Regions from separate parts of the Homo sapiens genome. Here region 2 is linked to region 1. The links are contacts of gene promoters, found by promoter capture Hi-C in human tissues and cell types (Jung and others, 2019). All regions are on one chromosome and are shown on one strand. The core of a region is centred on a gene start or on the middle of the fragment in contact, and the rest is flanking DNA. Distances in the headings are between cores, read along the strand shown.

The links. Contacts are between HindIII fragments. The study calls those that stand out against the background at their distance.
Region 2: a fragment that was not itself captured here is called in contact with the fragment with the promoter of NTM in region 1 in 1 of the 25 tissues and cell types used here (dorsolateral prefrontal cortex).

The regions. Positions count from the first base shown.
Region 1 is chr11:131,368,571-131,372,135 of GRCh38, forward strand. It overlaps NTM (neurotrimin), which reads left to right and starts at 2,045. Exons shown (of 9, transcript NM_001352005.2): 1 at 2,045-2,318. The coding sequence starts at 2,237. The HindIII fragment of the contact is 4,341 bases long and covers 1-2,449 here.
Region 2 is chr11:132,155,621-132,159,185 of GRCh38, forward strand. The region is part of intron 3 of NTM (neurotrimin); the gene reads left to right. Among named protein-coding and RNA genes, the nearest start is that of NTM-IT, 130 kb to the right of the region's middle. The HindIII fragment of the contact is 4,902 bases long and covers 1-3,565 here.

The DNA.
Region 1 (3,565 bases), core at 795-3,294:
CCCTTAGTTGTGCAGAACTATGAGAAGGATCTTGAGGTCCCCAGATCTTGAGGTCCCAGGGCCCCTTCCTCTCAAGGTCACAAGATCCCACATTCCAGGCAGTGTTGTCCCTATTCATACACAACACAAGGTAAACTTGTGGGAGGCCAAGGCTGGAAGGACTGCTTGAGGCAAGGAGTTTGAAACCAGCCTGAGCAACATAGTGAGACTTCATCTCTACTATGTTGTAGAAAATTAAAAAAAAAAAAAAAATAGCTGGGCATAGTGGGTAAGGCAGGAGGGTTCCTTGAGCCCAGGAGTTCAAAGTTGCGGTGAGCTGTGATTGCACCACTGCACTCCAACCTGGGTGACGGGGCAAGAGTCTGTCAAAAACAAAAACAAAAAAGAAAGAAAAAAGAAAAAAGCCAAGGTAAATCGTACGTCTTAGACATGTGCAAAATGGCAGTGATGTTTTCATTTCACCTCTGTACACTAAAATACAAACAGACAATGAGTACTTTTCTTCTATGCAGTTTGAAAATACATGAACATTTTTATGGGGTTACAAGGAAGTATAATAATTAGCGGTGGAGTTCTAGAAGAATATTTTTAAAATGTGTGTCAAGGCATAGTAGGGGTATGAATGTGTCAGAATTAGCTAAGGAAGGTTCTGTGAGAAACTACATTTTCTTTTTCTTTTCTTTTTTTTTTTTTTTTTTCTTGAGACAGGGGCTGGCTCTGTCACCCAGACTGGATTGTAGTGGCGCCATCTTGGCTTACTGTGATCTCCGCCTCCCAGGCTCAAGCAATTCTCCTGCCTCAGCCACCCAAGTGGCTGGAACCACGGGTGCGCACCACCAAACCCAGATATTTTTAAGGAATTTTTTAGTAGAGATAGGGTTTCACCATGTTGCCCAGGCTGGTCTCGAATTCCTGAGCTCAGGCTACTGGCCTTCCTTGGCCTCCCAAAGTTGTGGGATTACAGGCGTGAGCCACAGTGCCCAGCCAGGAGCTACATTTTCTAGATTTTTTGTTCACATCCTCTAACTTGCTTCTCATAAGGGGAAGCCAAAGATTAGAATAAACTTCCAGGCCCTAGAATTAGACCTCTTAAGAAATCATTTATGTCCATTAGATTATTTCTGTTCGGTTTTTATTCTTTCCTATCACCAAGGAGGTTAATGTCTTCAACTGTCTGAGGAACTACACAAAGTTTACACTCAGAAAGCCCCTCCGCATGTCTACCCTGAATCTTTCTCGCTGCAGTTTAAATCACAGATGCTTCTATGATTGCTTTAGTGGATGTGGATTGACCAAGTCATGGGGAATAAACTCCTGCTTTGTTTTCTTTTGAAGAAGGTTCTCCATCTTCAGACTATAGAGCTTCTTCTCAAATACCAGGTACTTTGTACCTTTCCATTGTATCATATACACATGGATGAATTTAGGAAATTGACTTCTAAAAAGTGAATGAAAAAGAGGAGTAACATAGATGTTCTGAAACAGAAGTGACAGGAGGAGAAAATAGAAAGTTATTTACTATTTTCAAAGCAACTAAGTAGAAAGGTTGATGAAAGAGAGAAAAAAAAGCTGTCACTGAATGATATTTCCATTGGAGGGGAAAATAGGTACCAACAAATGAAAATTGCCTCATCTTTACAAGTTTCACTGAGCATGAAAATGTCCCTTTAAAATTTCCCATAAGCCATGGCTGGCTATGGGATTTTTCCAGTGCAAAGGGAATCTGAGTTCAGGAGGCCAGGGAATGCCAGGGGGAAAGGGATTTTCTGATACTCAGAAGACTCAGAGACTGTCAGTTTAAAAAATGAAAGTAATATAGAAGGGGCAAAGTGGCATTTATCATTCTATCTCTCCAGGCTCCTGTCTCTTTAATCAGCTAGCCTGATTTGCCCAGTAAATGATTCCTGAGAGTGTGTGTGCGTGTGTGTGTGTGTGTGTGCCCGCGCGCGTGTGTTGTAGCTCTGTCAATCCTTGGATTAGAACCAATGATTGCAGCTTGTAGGAGGGCTGTCCAGGGCCAGATTGTACAATGTGTCTCAGTGCCAGAGTATGAGTGGAGATAATTACGGAGAAGTCATACTCTCTCACACCCTCGGCTTTCTTGTTGTGTCCTTCAGCAAAACAGTGGATTTAAATCTCCTTGCACAAGCTTGAGAGCAACACAATCTATCAGGAAAGAAAGAAAGAAAAAAACCGAACCTGACAAAAAAGAAGAAAAAGAAGAAGAAAAAAAATCATGAAAACCATCCAGCCAAAAATGCACAATTCTATCTCTTGGGCAATCTTCACGGGGCTGGCTGCTCTGTGTCTCTTCCAAGGTAAGAGCTTGCTATTGATTTGCCTTCGGTAGACCCAGGAATTGTACAGTGTGCTTTATAAGATTTGCAGACTCCCCGAGTCGGCTGTGCTGCGCTGTTTGCAGGTGGAGGAGAGAGCGTTTAGACAGCATGGCTGGGACTTCATTCTCCCGACTAGGCTGTGAGAATATTGATTTGATTCTGGCTGCTACCGGAATGGGGGAATATGTATGTGCATAAGTAAAATGTGTTTGGTGCTCCTGTTAGGACTGTGCTTGTGTGCAAGGCTCCCTGGCTTCATGCACATTCTTGCACACATACACAACGGAGCACACATGTAAGCAGGGGGAAATGACAGATTCGGAGGGCAACAGGGTTGCTAATGTGTTGCTTATGCGACTGGGAAGAAATTACAAGAGGAAACTTTAAATATCGGCCAGCGAACTTGCAAAGCTTTTAAAAGGAGCAAAGGGGAAAATGCAGGCTAGAAAGAATCAGGTGCTTCCTGTGAGGTTCTGGTCAGCGATCCAGCTGCAAGGGATGAGTCAATTTGCAGCAGTGGGGGACAACTGTATTAGTTTTAAATGTGTTCGGGGGTGTGTTTGTGGCTGGGGTCGGAGGTGTGGAAGCGAGGGGAGCCGGGGCTCTGAAATTCTAAAAAGCTTTTCGAAGTTGAAGGGAGAGAGGCAATAAGAGTCGAATGCTAATTTTCTGTTTATTTATCGGCTGAGCCGGGAGCCCTGGGGGCTGCAGTTGAGTGCAAGCTTTGATGTCCCCAGTGCTGTGTTCTGTGCATTTGGAATCGGCCTCCACCTTGAGTCCATTTGCTGCACCGTGCCTCCCCACACCCCATCCCGGCTCTCACGTCTGTTCGTTCCAGCAACAGAATTATCCACTAATCTTCTTGCTCCCACCTGCCCTGTCCTTTGGGGTAACTAGTTTGCCTCTTTTATATTAAACACAGCTAAAACTCGTAAGGATCGAGACAAGCTGAGAAACTTTCCCAGGGTGGCCCAGCAGGGCTCCGGGAGGAGGAGCCCTCTCTTGGGAGGTGAGGCTCAGTCCTATGCAGTTGTATTCCCAGAGGAAAGTTCCCTCTGACCCGGTGAAAAACGATGGGGAGTCCCACCCCCTCGCCCTCTTCTCCCCCTGCAATATGGAGTTCTCCTGATCTGGACTGAGTCCTGAGCTGTAGTCCTGCTGGCTCTTCTCCGAGGTTAGGATTTAGGGATTGCTGCTGTCCTCTTGACATAGGTTGCAGTGGCTGC
Region 2 (3,565 bases), core at 580-3,079, 790 kb after region 1:
GTTTTGTTTGGGCATGTTTTATGGTGTTCTTATCGTCCTAAAACCTGGATTTCACAGAGGGGACCTGTGTGCTAACACTGTTCCTCATTCTGAGGGCTAGGCTGGCCAAGCCATTTCTTCCTACTCTGAGAAAGAAAGATGAGAAATTTTGATTATTTTCCCTTTCACACATAAACCATCATGTGTCAAGTCCTGAAATTGAGGTTGGAATGGATACAAAGATGGATGAGATGGGTCCCTACAATGGGGATGTGCAAAGGAGTGGGGTGCAGGTAGGGTGTGTAAGGGCAGCAGCTCTCACAGCCACTGGAGAGTCCCTGGGCTGAGAGCGATGGCTGCAAGCTTGGGAGCCAGGCTTTGCTGTTGCAGAAGGCCAAGAAAATAATAAAGTCTTTTGAAATTGAGTAATGTGGCGTTTCAGCTCCCGACTGTTAGAATGAAAATAGCGATTCTGCCACACCCACTTTGCACCCCTCACCCCTCATTTCTGCACTTGTAGCCTGAGTGATCTTTTCAAACCAAATCTGGAGGTTCCTCAAAGACTTCTCTTTAGCCCAAGAGAGCCAATTCCTTATGAAGGAGTTGATAGTCCTGGAGGCCAGGCTCCAGGGGACCTCTGCTCCTGGTTCATGCCATGTCCTGCCTCACTATTTTCATTCTAGTGTATTTTTTCTTGTTATTTCTGGTCATAGGCCCTTTGAACGTTCCCTTCCCTCTTCCTGGAATTCTCTTTTGCTTTTCACCCAGTCGGTCCTATTTATCCTTCAGACTTTGACTCAAATGCCATTTCCATAGAGAACTTTCCCAGACCTGCTAACCACTGCCACTCCCACCTCTGCCAGGAGCTAGAGCCTTGCCCTTCTTCCTGCTTTTTGCCACAGTTAAAATGTGGCATTTGTCTGTGTGATTGGTTGATTATGTCATTTTTTCTGAGGTCAGGGGGCCCGTATGCTTGTGCATTCTATCCCCAGTGCCTGGAATTTAATAGAGCTCAGGGACTATTTGTTGGATAATCTATCTGTAAAGTTTCTTTTTTATTGTATTATAATTATTAAACAAAATGATTCATTTTTTTTTCATTACTAGTTGTAGTAGGCTGAATAATGTCCAAACAAAGATCAGATTCTAATCCCTGGAACCCAAAAATATACTTTGCATGGTAGAGTCTTTACAGATGAGATTAGTTTAAAGATTTGAGATAGGGAAATTGTCCTGGGCCCTAAATGCAATCACATAAATCTTTACAAAAGGGAGGCAGAGGAAGATTTGATAGGAACACACACAGAGGAGAAGGCAGTGTAAAGACGGGAGCAGAGGGATATGAAGATGCTGACCCTCAGGGTTACAGTGATGTGGCCACAAGCCAAAGAATGCCCATAGCCAGCGGAAGCTGGGAGCACCAAAGACCAGATATCTTTTGAGAGCCTCTGGAGGAATCACAGCCTTCCTGATACCCTGATTTCAGCCTAGTGAGAGTCATTTTTGGACGTCTCACCTCCAGAATCATCAAAGAATCAATTTCTCTTGTTTGTTAAGCCACTAAATATATGGAAATGTGTTATAGAAAAAGGAAACAAATACACTGACCTTCAATGTTTTGAATCCTTAATGGATGGAAATAGGAAAAACAAAAATTGATATTTGAAATCTGCCCCAAATTTAGTCTTTGTCACTGTGAGAGATGAAGTAACACTCATCTTTTTCATTATTTCTTTTTAAAAAAAATCTCTTTGGAGATGCACCCTTGTCATGTAAATGCAATGAGGCATCAGCTTTTTGTCCTTGGGGTATCTACAGGAGCAGATGGAGTCATCCACATTTCAAAACTAAGATGATACTTTTTGATGTTGAAAATTTCTGTCCCAGGGGCCCTAGGGTATGGAAGCAGGGAGGGAAAGACACCTCTGCCAAATATGGTTTTAATGAGAGGAAACCATTGATGTCGCCTAGCATTAAGCTGTGAGATTTGGTTTGTGAATGTGGGACCAGAGTTGAAGATTAAAATCGCTAAACATTCTCTTGTTAACTGGGAGAGGGACCTCGTATTTGTGTTTTTTCTCCACTATGTGTCTCATAGGCATCTCAAACTGAAAATGTAAAACATAGATCTCTTGAATTCTAGCCTTCTTTCCTGACCATCCTCTGACTCCAACCCTAAACCTGCTCCTCCTGGAGTCTTGCCATCTGGTAAATGGCAATTGCATTCTTCTAGTGGCTCATGTGAAAGCTGCAGTCCGTCTTCACTGTTTTCCTTTTCCCGTCCTCTTCCTCAATCCTGAGCACGTCCTGCTAGATTTTCTGAATTCGGAGGTTTATCCAGTCCTGCCTCTTCTGCCCTCTCCCAAGCTGCTGTTACCTTTGTCTGGAGTGTTCCACAGCTTTCTACCTAACTGGCCTGCTTTTTTTGTTCTTATTCCCTATCGTCTGTTCTCCATGCTCAGCGAAAGCATTTCTGTGCAGGCTTCGTTGTTCCTGATTTAGTCGCTTCCTGGCTCACCTAAGGTCTTTAACATCCCTACTGTGGCCTAAAAGGTCTTCCTTGGTCCGGCCACCAGTGTCTCCCTGGCTTCACCTCCACACACACTCCCTTTTCCTTACCCTGTCTCCACTACTTCCTGATATGCCTGTGATACACCAAGGTGGCCTCCTGGCTTCCAGGCCTTAAAGCTCCCTCTGCTGGTGCCCATGCCAGGTGTCCTTGGGGCTCTCTTCTTAGATCTCTGTTCAAGGTCACCTTAAGGCAGAGGCCTTCTTCACCACCTGCATAAAATAGAGCTTCCAACCCCACATCATCACACCCTAGCACCTTTCTTGCCTTGTTTGTTCTTTATAAAGTAACTCACCTATTGGCATAATGGATATTTCCGTGTTGGAGAGTGGTAGCCTGTTTCAACCCCTCTAGAACATGTGTGCCATGATGGTGGGGCTTGATCTGGCATGTTCATTGTTGTTTCCCAAGTGCCTAGAACAGGGTCTGGTGCATAGTAGGCACTCTGTAAGCATTTGTCAAATAAATGAATGAATGAAAACAAAGGCCTACCGTTAAGTGGACTTGATCATATTTTCTCAGTGTTTGCTCTCTCTTTGGTCAGGCGTGAGAGCATGAACTTCTCTGTTACTTCTATCAAAATGTTTTGGTCCCTCTAGTCTCAGACCAGGTGACATTCAGCTGAGTTTTGCAGTGTGCATTTTCTTAGCAAGGTAAAGAATTGAACCAGATTGAAGGAACAAATCACACAGCAGGAAGGACTCTGAGAGACCAAAGATGAGTCACTCCAGGTCACTGCCTGGAAAGAAAACAGGAATGATAGAGGCGCACCACAGCCTGGATAGCAGGAGAGGGCCAGATCTCTGCCACCCCCAGGGTGTGGGTTTCACTGTGGAGGGGATGGGGAATTATAGGAAGGGTTGAACAGGGAAATTAAATTAGTTGTATTTCAGAAAGATCTCTGGCATCAGAATGAAGGGTGGATTGGAGGGGAGTTTTGCAGCAGGGAGACTGAGAGAGAATGAAAACAAGGCTGAGATTGTATTATCCTGTGTTCCTGACCAGGAGACCCCCCTC